Regions from separate parts of the Homo sapiens genome. Here region 2 is linked to region 1. Evidence: promoter capture Hi-C in human tissues and cell types (Jung and others, 2019). All regions are on one chromosome and are shown on one strand. The core of a region is centred on a gene start or on the middle of the fragment in contact, and the rest is flanking DNA. Distances in the headings are between cores, read along the strand shown. Region 1 holds the start of C14orf180 (chromosome 14 open reading frame 180). Region 2 overlaps TDRD9 (tudor domain containing 9).

Region 1 (2,948 bases), core at 444-2,943:
GGAGGCGAGGAGGGTGCAGCCGAGCCCTATCAGATACGGCCGGAAATATGACCCCGCTGGGACCTGAGCCCTGAGCCGAGCCATCAGCTCACTAATAAATTACCCAGAGCGAATGTCCACAGGGTCAGCCCGCATCGCCTTTCCAGGGAGCACAGAGAGGGGGCGGCACCCAAGGTCTGTGGGCTGACCGTTCCCTCCCCTCTGTCAATGAGAAGGGTCAGGAAGGAGTTGTCCCGGAGCCCCCCGACCTCGGGCAGTGCAGCCTGACCTCTGAAATCTGGGAGGAGCAGCTCCAGCCCTGGGAAGCCAAGGATAAGCGCCCAGATTGGGCACAGGCGGGAGAGGGTCTTGTCTGGCTACAGGACCTCACTCTTCCCAGGAAGCCAGACTGCCAGCAGGACCACCCAGCCTTCCTCAGTGCTCTCCCTGGAACAAGCGTCAGCGAGCCAAGGCCCTCCTGCCAATCTGGCCCACCCCGTTTGTGTAGACACAGAGCGCACTGTGTGCCATATGGCCCTGTAAGAGAAAAGTTTGCTCCCCCATGCCCTGTACTGAAGACGGCAGTGAGGGGAGGGCCGGTCTGCTGAACCCCATCCCAGTGGCTGCGTTGCTCATGCTCTGACGGTGGGTTCCAGGACTCTGTGTCCATGCAGCCCCACGGCTGGCCCTGAGCAGTCACCCTCTGTGCACACTGTCCCCCAGCCTGGCACACCCTGGGCTCCCAGGGGTCCTGTAGCTTTACCCAAGGGAGATGCACCCCCATTCCTAATGGAGAAACACGGGTCTCTCCACACCTCCTCCAGCAGTCCCCTGAAACAGGTCAAAGCCCCACAAACCAGGCAGGGGTCTGCCCACATGTGGTGGTGCCCTGCGCCAGTGATGCCCTCACCAGCCTCTTTCAGACCTGCCTTTACATGCACCAGCAGACGGGGGGGCTGGCGAGGACGGGCCACCAAGCCTGAGCCAGGCTACCACCTCCGGGCTGTGTGACTCTGGACAGGGTGCCTCAACTCTCTGAGCTGCACTTTCACCTACAAATGAGGGGCAGACTCAGCAGCGCCAGGCAGGGCAGTTGGACGCCCACCCAGGACAGACCCTGAGAAAGGCTGATCCCTCACCCCTGCCATCGCTCACTGACCCATACATTGCCCCTTCCTGCCAGGGCAATATCGAGGGTCGGCCAGTGTGCCCCAAAACGGCAGCTTGGGACCCATTCTTTGCCTCTCCCTCTGGCAACCCCAGGTCAGGACTCACAGGGGCACAGGGGCCTGGGGCAGGGCGGGCACTCTCGCCACCACGGAGGCCCCATGCTGGGTCAGGGTCTTATTGGAGGCTGGACTCTGTGATCACCTCACCTCCCGCAGCCCCACAGTGCCCTCCCTCTCCCACTCTGCCCCGAATTCCAATCCATAGGTTTTTCCAAGAGCTGCACAGCTCTGGAATTGACCTGGGAGGGGGCACATTTGGGCCGGGAGGGGTAGGAACAGCAGCAAACTCTGGTCTTATCTGAAATCATGGTCTGTTGTCCACCGGGGGCCTGGGAAACAGCCACCCCCTTCTGCTCCGGGGCCAGCGGCCTGTCCTCGGGTTCACTGCTATTTCTGCCAAAGGGGAGAGGTAATTATAGCCTGGCCGCTGCCAGCTGGCCCAGCTTTGCGATCCAGCAGAGAGGGCTGGAGACGGGACGAAGGCCACAACAGACCCGGCCCTGCCAGCGGGCGGTGGCGCCTCCAGATCAGAGCCCTCGGGAAGGAGGCCTGGGCGGGCCTGGCCCGTTCACCTGTGTGCCCTGCAGTTCTGCCCGAGGCTCAACTCTCAAGGGCCTGGGAGGGGTGCTGCCGGCCAAGAGGGTCCAGGACCTCACTGGACTGTGCCCCACAGGGAGATCCCGAAGAGCCTGTTTCTGTCCCTCGGGGAGCCAGGAGGGAACCAGGTGAGTTCCAGCCCCAGGGAGAGGGGGCTCACTTCCTGCTTGGGTATGAAGATGCCAGAGCGGAGAGATTGCCAAAGGCAGGTGCAGGTGGGGAACCTGCCCCAGCTGGGCAGCAGGTGTGGGCAGAGACTGGGCAGAGCGGAGAGATTGCCAAAGGCAGGTGCAGGTGGGGAACCTGCCCCAGCTGGGCAGCAGGTGTGGGCAGAGACTGGGCAGAGCACACACTGATGATCCTGAGTGACCTGAACAAGCTCCAGAGTGGCCACCCTTCCCCCTTCTCCTGGGACTGATGGTTTCCCTAAAACGGAGACAGTCCCAGGCCGGCCCTGTGTCCACACTGAGGCCAGGCCGCCTCTGGGGGAAGCAGGGAACACGGCCACTTCAAACTTAGCAGCGGGGGTGCTCCTGGCCACACAGGAGCTTCCAAAGGGCACCTGATGTTGCGCGAAACAGCCTGGGCAGTGGGAGAAGGGGCTGCACTCTCAGGGGAATGCAGGCAGCCGTGCCAGGCATGAACCCAGCCAGCCTTCCCTGAAGGGCCTTGGTGGGGGGCATCCTCCGAGGGCAAGTCTACGCAGGCCCAGCCTAGCAGGAATGGATTCGTTACTCCAGTAACTGAAGCCTAGTTCTCAGTGTTTGGGAATCCCTGAGAACTGGCTCTTTTCTGAGCCGTCAGTCAGAAGGAATCCCTGTCCTGCCCTGTGTGGCCATGGGACCCCCACCCAGCACTGGACGCCACGCCATTTCTTGGGCACTACTGAGCTTTGCAGTGCCCTGGACAGTTGGCAAACAGCCCCCATTCCACATATGGGAGGAAGGGCCTGGGGGGGTCCCCCGCCCTGTCTGTCTGGAGCTCTCGAGGCCTAGGGTGGCCCCTGCACCCAGCAGATGAGCAGCCATCACCCGGTACTGCTGCTACCTCGAGCCCTAACTGCACCTCGGGATGTGAGGGCCCATCTAGGCATGGAGAGGGGCCTCAGGGGGCCACCAGGCAGCTCCTGCTCCTGTTCCTACC
Region 2 (2,700 bases), core at 121-2,620, 530 kb before region 1:
CTGTGTCTGGGTGTTACAGTCTGTGCCCACTGCATCCTAAAGGCCTTTTCTTTCTTCTTTTCTCTTTGGGTGATAGTCAGAGAGTGGTGTTTTTGTTCAGGTGGGAAGGATTGGAAACTCTAGTCTTTTCTAGAAACAGAAAATCACTGTATTAAATATTTTGGAAAGATTGTTCTGAAAGAAGTCTGTTTGGATAAAGAGCTGTATTTTGCTTTAAATTTATTAAGGTAAATATAAGTAGTTAATCTTAGATGTAAGGTTCCAGAATGTGCTTACATATTCTGTTCTGTTACAGTGATTTAAACCAGTAGTATAGGAAAAAACTTAAAAAAACAAAAAAACCATGTAGTATTTTCTGATTTTTTTTTCCATGAGGGAAAATATCTAATTTTTATAAGACTAAGTTGAGTTATACTTCTTGGTTCACATTTTGGAAATCAGAGATTACAGATTACATGGCCATAGCTTATCTGTGTTAAAACAATAAAAGCATTAAATGAAGTTTCTGTTTCTGACAGTTTTTAGTCAGAGGAGATTAAGATGTATTTAGTTCCAAAAAATCTGAAATTGTACAACTGATACAGGGATACAGACCTCTTTTAAAAGCTCAACTCACATCAGTCAGGGTTTGGTCAGAAGAACAGAGCTGTTGTAAATACAGCAGTGAAAGACGCCAGTGAGCTCGCACGTGAGAGGGAAGTTGTAGGATCAGAGAAATGCTCTGCTTAAACTGACTTGTCCCAGATGGACAATTTGAAGATGGTGAGGAAACAGGAGAAGCGTGTGCATGGGCATCAACTTGGGATCATAAACGGGAGCTTGTGTGGGGTCTTGGAAGCCGTCACATCTTGGGGAGCATTGGCGCTGTGCTGGGCCTCTGTGGGTTCGCTGGCCAGCAGCGGGAAGCTGGCAGATGCCAAGCGGGAAGACCACCAAGCAGCTGTGGTGGCTGGGCAGCACTGCACCCCTGTCACTGGGCCACTGTCCTGGCCTTCTGGGGAATGTGCTTCCCAGCCTTAGGGAGTAAGTGGTCATACCAAGTTGGCACACATGGAGGGCTCTTGGAAGGTTTTGAGCACGTCCAAAACTTGGTTCCGCTTTAAAGTGAAGGTTTTGCCCGTCGTCAGAAAGCCCTCTGAGAAAGCCTCCGGGGAGGGCAGCAGACACTTTGATTGGCTTTTCTCTTTGCTCTGCCGACCTATGAGTACTTAGTCCATGTGGGCAAGGTTACCAAATGTGTGGCCTTAGCAGTAGGGGACACTCACAACAGTCAAGCACTCATTCTGTTCGTTTTTTAACCAGACTTTTAGTAAGTGACTAAAAATTTAGGCCAGGTGCAGTAGCTCACACTTGTAATCCTAGCACTTTGGGAGGCCGAGGTGGGAGGATTGCCTGAGCCCAGGAGTTCAAGGCTGCAGTGAGCTGTGATTGTACCCCTGCGCTACATCCTGGGCAATAGGGCAAGACTCTGTCTCAAAAAACAAAAACAAAAAAATTTAAGTAGTACCAAGAGGCTTGTTTAAAAACAAAAACACCCAACTCTCAAAGGAAACCATACTAACTCTTCCCTATATTTTTCTGGAATTGCTTTCATCTTGCTGAGGAATGTTTTTGTTCTGCTTTTTCATGGTTGCCATCTTAGCCATCAGCTGTTGAGCAGCAGATGAATATTGGCTCCTTCCCACTGTTCTGCACCTCCTTTGCTATCTCTACGCACGGTCACAGCAATATCACTGGCCAGGTCAGTCATTGTGCTTTATAACGTGGATTTTGTAGATAGCAAAGAAAATTATCTTCTGTAAAACCAAGTGGTGCACTTCGACTGCATTGCCTTCCTTATCTATCTTAAGAGGGTACTTGCCTTGTTTGTTTGCAAAATTCTCCTCATATTTAAATACATAATAATGTTCTTAGTATAATAATACATGTCCATGACATAAGATGAAGACATTTGAAAAGGGTCTCTAGTGAAGTCTCTTTCATGCCCAGCCCAAGTGCTCCTCGGAGGCAGTCGTTGTTTCATCCTGGTGCATCCCGTCAGCACGCCCTGTGTTCCACACACTGTCACGGACGCTGAAGATCCACTCCGAGCAAAGTGGCCCAGGTTTCACTGCACTCAGGGAGCAGTGGGTAGAGGCAGATGGTGGTCAAATGCGTCAGGCGACAGAGTGAGAGCTGTCAAGCGGCAGGACAGGAGCGTGCACACTTGTTTTTGCTTTGTGGGCCATGTGGTTGCTGCTGCTGCTGTTCAGCTTTGTGTTGAAGCTCAGGAGTAGCCATAAACAAACGAGCAGGGCTGTGTGCCCGCAAAACCTGATTTATGAGAACAGGCATCAGACTTGAGCTTGGGTCTTAGCTGCTGATCCTGTGATGGGGGGAAGTACAGGGAGTGACACTGCTTTAGAGAAGCAGCTGGGGACAGCCTTTCCCATGTGACATTCAAGCAGAGGCCCGGCCCAGGCTGCACTGGAATAGCTGGGAGGAGATGCGTGAGGCTCCAAGGAGGCAGCAGGCCTGGTGCGTGTGAGGAGCCACCAGGCAGCCCGTGCGGCTGGCACAGAGTGTGGAGGGTACTGGTGGTCAGGCTGGAGAGCAGCCAGGCCAGGTGGGCCACACGCAGGTTTTGGGGTTTACTCTGAGTGAGGTGGGGAGCTCCTGGAGGGTTTTGAACAAGGGAGTGTCATGCCTTGATGACGTTTT

What was found. Contacts are between HindIII fragments. The study calls those that stand out against the background at their distance.
Region 2: a fragment that was not itself captured here is called in contact with the fragment with the promoter of C14orf180 in region 1 in 1 of the 25 tissues and cell types used here (lymphoblastoid cells).

Annotation. Positions count from the first base shown.
Region 1 is chr14:104,578,071-104,581,018 of GRCh38, forward strand. It overlaps C14orf180 (chromosome 14 open reading frame 180), which reads left to right and starts at 1,694. Exons shown (of 5, transcript NM_001008404.3): 1 at 1,694-1,933. The HindIII fragment of the contact is 18,385 bases long and covers 1-2,948 here.
Region 2 is chr14:104,052,167-104,054,866 of GRCh38, forward strand. It overlaps TDRD9 (tudor domain containing 9), which reads left to right. Exons shown (of 36, transcript NM_153046.3): 36 at 1-501. Among named protein-coding and RNA genes, the nearest start is that of ASPG, 32 kb to the right of the region's middle. The HindIII fragment of the contact is 8,720 bases long and covers 1-2,700 here.